Linked DNA regions of Homo sapiens: region 2 is linked to region 1. The links are contacts of gene promoters, found by promoter capture Hi-C in human tissues and cell types (Jung and others, 2019). All regions are on one chromosome and are shown on one strand. The core of a region is centred on a gene start or on the middle of the fragment in contact, and the rest is flanking DNA. Distances in the headings are between cores, read along the strand shown. Region 1 holds the start of ZBTB44 (zinc finger and BTB domain containing 44). Region 2 overlaps SNX19 (sorting nexin 19).

What was found. The method cuts DNA at HindIII sites, captures the fragments that hold promoters and counts their contacts. A contact is called where the count stands out against the background at its distance.
Region 2: a contact is called between a fragment that was not itself captured here and the fragment with the promoter of ZBTB44 in region 1, in 1 of the 25 tissues and cell types used here (spleen).

Annotation. Positions count from the first base shown.
Region 1 is chr11:130,313,622-130,316,627 of GRCh38, forward strand. It overlaps ZBTB44 (zinc finger and BTB domain containing 44), which reads right to left and starts at 1,296. Exons shown (of 8, transcript NM_001301098.2): 1 at 754-1,296. ZBTB44-DT (ZBTB44 divergent transcript) reads left to right here and starts at 1,372. Exons shown (of 7, transcript NR_148980.1): 1 at 1,372-1,494. RefSeq lists enhancers at 450-499, 1,660-1,759, 1,930-2,029 and silencers at 590-1,419, 2,330-2,389. The HindIII fragment of the contact is 15,077 bases long and covers 1-3,006 here.
Region 2 is chr11:130,898,401-130,901,583 of GRCh38, forward strand. All of the region lies in intron 8 of SNX19 (sorting nexin 19), which reads right to left. Among named protein-coding and RNA genes, the nearest start is that of SNX19, 16 kb to the right of the region's middle. The HindIII fragment of the contact is 3,464 bases long and covers 1-3,121 here.

The DNA.
Region 1 (3,006 bases), core at 46-2,545:
AAGTGGAAGTTATGGAGAATTTCTTCCTGACTTCAAGAGATTATCTACTTACACGCTGAAAAAGAAATTAAGTTTTTGTCTTCATTTTTGTAAGTTCCAAAAAAAAGCACACAATTACGGGGTTTTATTGTAAATTCTGCTTGGATTCATAGAACTCACATGGACGCAATTTCCTTTTAATCAGTTCTAACGTACCTGTCATTTCTCGAGGTAACCCCTTTTTCTGATTAGGCCAGCAATAAAACGACTAGATGCAGAGTGATCCTCAGGAAGGAAAGGAAAAGAGGTGTGTGTGTGTGTGTATGTGTGTGTGTGTTTGTGTGTGTGTATATATATATATATATATTTTTTTAAAGAAGTGCCATCTTTTTCTTTCTGTACCAGAGAAAAAGCAGAAGGGGAAAGGAGGAAAAAAAACAGGTCTGAGCCTCCCGGGTTCGACCAGGTGAGAGGTGGCAACACTCCGGCCGCTCCGGGTTAGGGTGTTGGGCAAATGGGCGTGCAAAGGACGGGCAGCTCCCTGGAAGGTCGGGGTAACTGCTCCGGGACCGCGGGGCCCAAGGCCGGTCTCCTCCCAGAAGGATTAAATGCCACCGAGGGGATCCCGTGGGGTGTCTCCCGGCGCGGACTAGGCTGACAGACCCGGCTCTCCGCTCCCTTCGGCGCCAGGTGGGGGCCACGCGGTGTCAGCCACGGGCAGCGTGCAGGGGCCGTCCCCCGCGCGACCGGAGCCCGCCCTCCCCTCCCCGTTACCTGCGGGCGGCGGCGCCGGGCCCGGAGGCCTGCTGCTCCTCCTCCTTCTCCCGCCAGGCTGGGGCGGCGAGGCGGCGGCGGCGGCGGCCCGGGGGGAGGGGGCGGAGCGCGGCTCGCTGCCTCTCTCCTCCCCCGGGAGGCTCAGGGGCCCCTATCTCGGGCCGCCGCGCCTAGGCCCGTGAGCAGCCTGTGGTGGGGCATGGCGGCACAGCCACCGGCGTGCCCGCGAGTGGGAGTGCGAGGAGGCGGGGAGGGAAGCACCCCCAGCGCTCGGAGGGGCCAGAGGGGAGGAGCGAGGGGGCCCGGGAGCCGCGCGCTGGCGACCGTTGGGGACGGTTGGCCGAGGGCAGGCGGTTGTTTGGGGAGCGCGGCGACGGCTCGCGTGTTCCCAGCGGGGCGGGGTGGGGAAGGGGAAGGGGACTGAGGGGAGGGGAGGGGGAGGTTGGGAGGGAGCCGCCGCCGCGCGCGTGCGGCCGGCGCCGCCGCCGTTGCCGCTCCGCTCACTCCAGCCTGTTTGGGGGCACTTTGTTTGTGTCCCACAATGCTCTGCGCCGGCGGCCTGGCTGGGGAAGGGGAGGAGAAGGGGGCGGGGCGGAGCGCGCTCGGGGGCGGGGCTCGGGGCGGGGAAGGAAACGTGATGATTGCGCAAGCGCAGAAAATGGGCCCTCTTGGCCGTCGGGACTTGTACTGTTGGTGACTCCGTCTCCTTAGACGGTGGAGCCTGCGTGACCCAGAAAGGCCGTGAGTCTTGACACTGTATTTTTGCATATGTGCGCACATGTGCCGATTTACATTCACATGCCCCATAAGCCCTGTCCCATTTGTCCTTCCTCTAAGCCGTCCTCTTACCCAGTTCCCCTCTCACACCTGAGAAGCATTTCTCCGCAGGAGTCACATTTATAGCATTATTTTTTTCTTCGAACTAAAAACATAACTCCTATTTTCTCGGGTAGTTTTTGTAGGGAGGTCGAAATAGAAACACTTCAGCCCCTCTTCGGCGAGGGAGGTTAGTTGGTAAGGTGCCCATTGTTCACCCATGGAAACAGGCCTGCCAAGGGCCGCCCCGCAGACAGGTGAGCCCGCGCCCCCGTCCTGGGCGGACTGCGACATGCGGCGGGTGTCTGGATTGCGTGGCTCCTCGGGCCTCCTCGCAGTGCTTGCTCTCTTCCGTTCTAGCACTTGCCTCGGTGACCTGGCAGGACGTGCGGTTCTTGAGATGAGTGGAGAAACGGACTCCCAGGTCCCTCTCGTTCTTCCAACACAGGGACAGCTAGAGCTGCTCCAAAAATATACCCTACTTCTTCCACAACCGTGAATCTGTCATTTTTACTGCACCATCACTTACTTCCTGGCCTTCCCGGAGGAAGTGTGCGGGCCTCCCCGAAGTAACCGGTACCGCCCGGGGGGTTTTGAAGTTCTTGGTCAACTGCAAAATCAATCAACCTAGTTAACTCCTAGGGCCCTAAGTCTTGGCTTCCCCTGGCCAGGCGGGCGAGCGCTCTCCACACCGCCCCCGGAGGTCATAGGGGTTCCCGGGACTGCAGGCGGCAGCGCCCCAGGTGCCTGGGGGCGGGCGGGGTGCGGGCAGGTGCTCCTTGGGCGCTTTCTGTTTTCCCACGCCTCCAGTTTGCAAACCGAAAGACTTCTTTCCAGAGGGTTTTGTGCAAGGTGGGTGGACGTCCCGCTGAAGTAGAGTGGATTTTCCTTTTGAAACACTTGGCAACATCTCACATTAATTCACTCTGAGAGACAAGCAGCCAAGCACCTGAACACCCTGACACTTGCAATCTTCTTTAGGAATAAAGGCAATAAAAACAACTTCTGTTTTTATAGTCCTTCGCAGTTTCCAACAAGTTTTCAAGCATGTATAATGTTATCTAATCCTTACGGCAACTGTAATTCACAGGTTTTATCACAGGTTTCTATTATTATTCCCACTATCATTCTTATTATTCCCATTTCAGAGATGAGAAAAATCAGAAAGATGCGAACTAGGCCCAGAAACTTTTGCACTAAGTTTTGAAGAGGGGAAGGGAAAGAAGGCGGAATGCTTACCTGGGAGAGGACTGGCGGCCACAGAGCAGGGCTCAGGAAAGGGCATGAGCTGGGGCCCTGGTGAGGAATGTGTGAGAATGTATGTAGGTGGTAAGCAACTGGACAAGAATCAGGGTGGAAATGAAGTAGTCAAATCCTATCTACCTCTCCTAGTGCCTTTAACAGGATAGTCAATAAAAGACCATGAGGCAAGTCTTT
Region 2 (3,183 bases), core at 140-2,639, 580 kb after region 1:
CTAAATAACTAGAGAAGTGGCAGTACCACGTGTGGCACCAACACCAACTATCCTGCTCTTTTAAGCACGGAACTTAAAGGAAGAGAACCCAAGTACCCTGCAAAAGCATATGGCTCAGCTACCCGTGGTTTCAGGGAGGACAAACATGTAGCCTCCTAGGCAGCAGTCATGGGGATGGGAGGCAACGGGACCTCATATCATGCCTCTTGTGGGAGATGCAGGGGGTACAGTGGAGAGGTGCTGCAGCTCTGGAGATGTCAAGTTTCCAGCATATTGGCTTACCAAAGCAAATAAAGCTGAAGCATGCAGCAATGCATACACCACTTTTTAAAATTAAAACCTGCAACTGTCCCAGGGATAGTAACATGGGCTGTCTTTAGACTGCAGCACTGCCCTTAGGTTAGCTGCAAGTGTGTAGATACGGAGATGCAGTTTGGATTCTACAAACTGCCTGATAATCTCCAGTACTTGGAGACAGAGATTTTTGGGTTGGCTTTTATCCTGCTGAATTGCAGGGCAAAGATCTGATCCTGAAATTTAGACAATCATCACAGCTATAAATCAGAAAAACCTGGGTTCAAATTCTGCTTGTGATATTTATTAACCCTGTGATTTTGACTAGATAACCCACATTCTTTGTAAACCTTAGTTTCCTTGTCTTTAAAATGAGGGTCATAGTACCGCTTTCGCAGGACTTGGAGGAATTAAATGGTATTAAGTTGGTGCAAAAGTAACTGTGGCTTTTGAACAGCATGTGCATACAGTGTTCAGTACAGTATTTGCACTAAGTCAACTCTCGATAAACATTTGCTGGACAGCAAATGTGCTGATGCTGACGAGATTATCAACGTTTACACTCTGAATGCTAAAATGTGTTAGCTCCATGTCTATAATGCACAGGGTGCTTCCAGGTATGAGACCATGGGCCACCAGTGCCAGATCTTTGGAAGCTCTAGTGGAAGAACCGGTTCTTTCTTTAGATATCATGACTTCTAGCTTCCTATCTTAAGGAGGCTTCAGGAAAACTGTGAAACCAGCTATAAGGTACTTCAGAAGAGGGCCAAAAATGTCATTAAAAAGATGGGAAAAATGATTTGTAGGGATACATGAATGGCCTCAAACAGAGAAGTATGAGATTCTTCATTTAATTCTAGTCTGTGGAAGCTTGGGTGAGGAGACTGCTAACCAGATGTGGTCCTATTTTCATTGCAGCTAATACAAAACCAAATGGGCTAAGGATAAAGTTGTATTCTTAGATATAAGAACTTGTTGACAGGAAGGGATATGAGGTAACTGAACATGTATAAAACATCTTCACCTGGAAATATGTACAATGAACCAAAGATAACAGGCCATAGTTACAACAAGTTTTTCAAAAGTAACTAGCCGCAAAATGCTGTTCTTGCCCAATATTCACAGTGGCTTCATTCAAATTCACCAAATATATTCAGAGTTTTCCCACTTTTCCCATCACAATAGTGATGCTTTTCCATAAAACAGAATAAGACAAAACCAAAAAACAAAAAGTCAGAATGTGAAAAGAGGAGAAAGTCTAGGGAAATTCAGCTGTAAGCCCTCTCCCTCATTTCCTTTATGGCATGAGCTACATTTGGGTTTTGCTAGTCTGCATTCACCAGACTTTACCCAGCTCACTGGAGTTGTGGTTGTAGTTGGGGAGTGTCAGGGACAGGAATGGAAAGGTGAGGAACTTGCCTGGGCAACATAGTGAGACCCCATCTCAACCAAAAAATTTAAAAAATTAGCCAAGCACGGTGGTGTGTGCCTGTAGTCCTAGCTACCTGGGAGGCTGAGGTGGGAGGATGGCTTGAGCCCAGGAGGTTACAGTGAGCTATGATTGCAGTGCCACTGCACTCCAGCCTGGGCGACAGAATGAAATCCCATCTCACTGATATTTCATATATTGACATTTTATCCTCAATATATGAAAAATGAAAAAGAAAGAAGTCTCACAGCCTCTGCTCTGAACTCTAAAATGAGCCCTGTCTTTTCCATGTCTGCCACGCAGCTGGAGCTTGCTTCGCTCGTATTTAACTTTTCTGCCTTAGATCTCCCAGGGCCCCGGCCACATGAAAAAGTACTTCTGTGATCATTCTCTAACTCCCAGAATATAGGTATTTCTCCTTTATCTGGACTAGCCCAAACCCTTGAGCACTCTGAGTTATTCAAACTTCAGGTCAACTTTTTCCTACCCCTTTTATATAAGGATCTCAATCTTTTTTGAATTTCTCCTAACTCATCTATACTTTTATCCTCATACTGAATAATTTCTCGTGTTCTGAAACCAATCTGTCATGTAAATGACCTCAAGGAGAAGGGGTCATATTAGATCACACACTAGCTAGTTTTGGGATCTTCTCATTTTGTTTTTTTAAACCACTTAGAAGATTAGCAAAGGGAAGTCCAAAAAAAGAAGAAGAGAAATGAAGGCCTAATTAGTGACATCCAGAGGTGACAGAATAAAACTAAAGAGACTATACTTTCAAGTGTAAAGGTACTGGGAAGGGAAATGTTTATTTCTTTATTCAATATTTAATGAGTACCTACTATGTCCAGGCCCTGTATAAGCTGCTGGGGAGACAAAGCTAGTTCCGGTCCTTAAAGAACTAATAGTCTACACAGCATTTCTCAAGCTTGGTAACACTGATATTTTGGGCAGGATAATTCACGTTGTTTGGCATGGTGGACTGTCCTGTGTAGCTGCAGGATGTTTAGCAGCATCCTTGGCCTACATCCACTAGATGCCAGTAGGCATCCCACATCTCCTTCCCAGTTGTGACAACAAAAAATATCTCCAGATAATGGCAAGTGTCCCCTGGGGGACAAAAGTGTACCCCAGTTGACAACCACTAGTGTAGGAAAAGCAGATCATTTATATAAACACACTGTGACAAGTATTATTATCAAAACTTTGCAAGTTAGAGAAGAGGACTCCTTAATTCTCGGGGAAAGAGAGCAGATGCTACAGAAGGTTTCACAGAATAAATGACATTTTATGCTTAATATATGAAAAATGTTTTGCAGTAGGCCAAGCAGACAAGAAGAGGAAAAGTTAGGAACACATGGAAGGAACAGGGAAATAACAGGTAGAGAAAGACCATTCGAAGGCAGATACAGGAAGATGAGCAAAGGCCTGGGGGTAAAAGACCACAGAATATTCAGGCA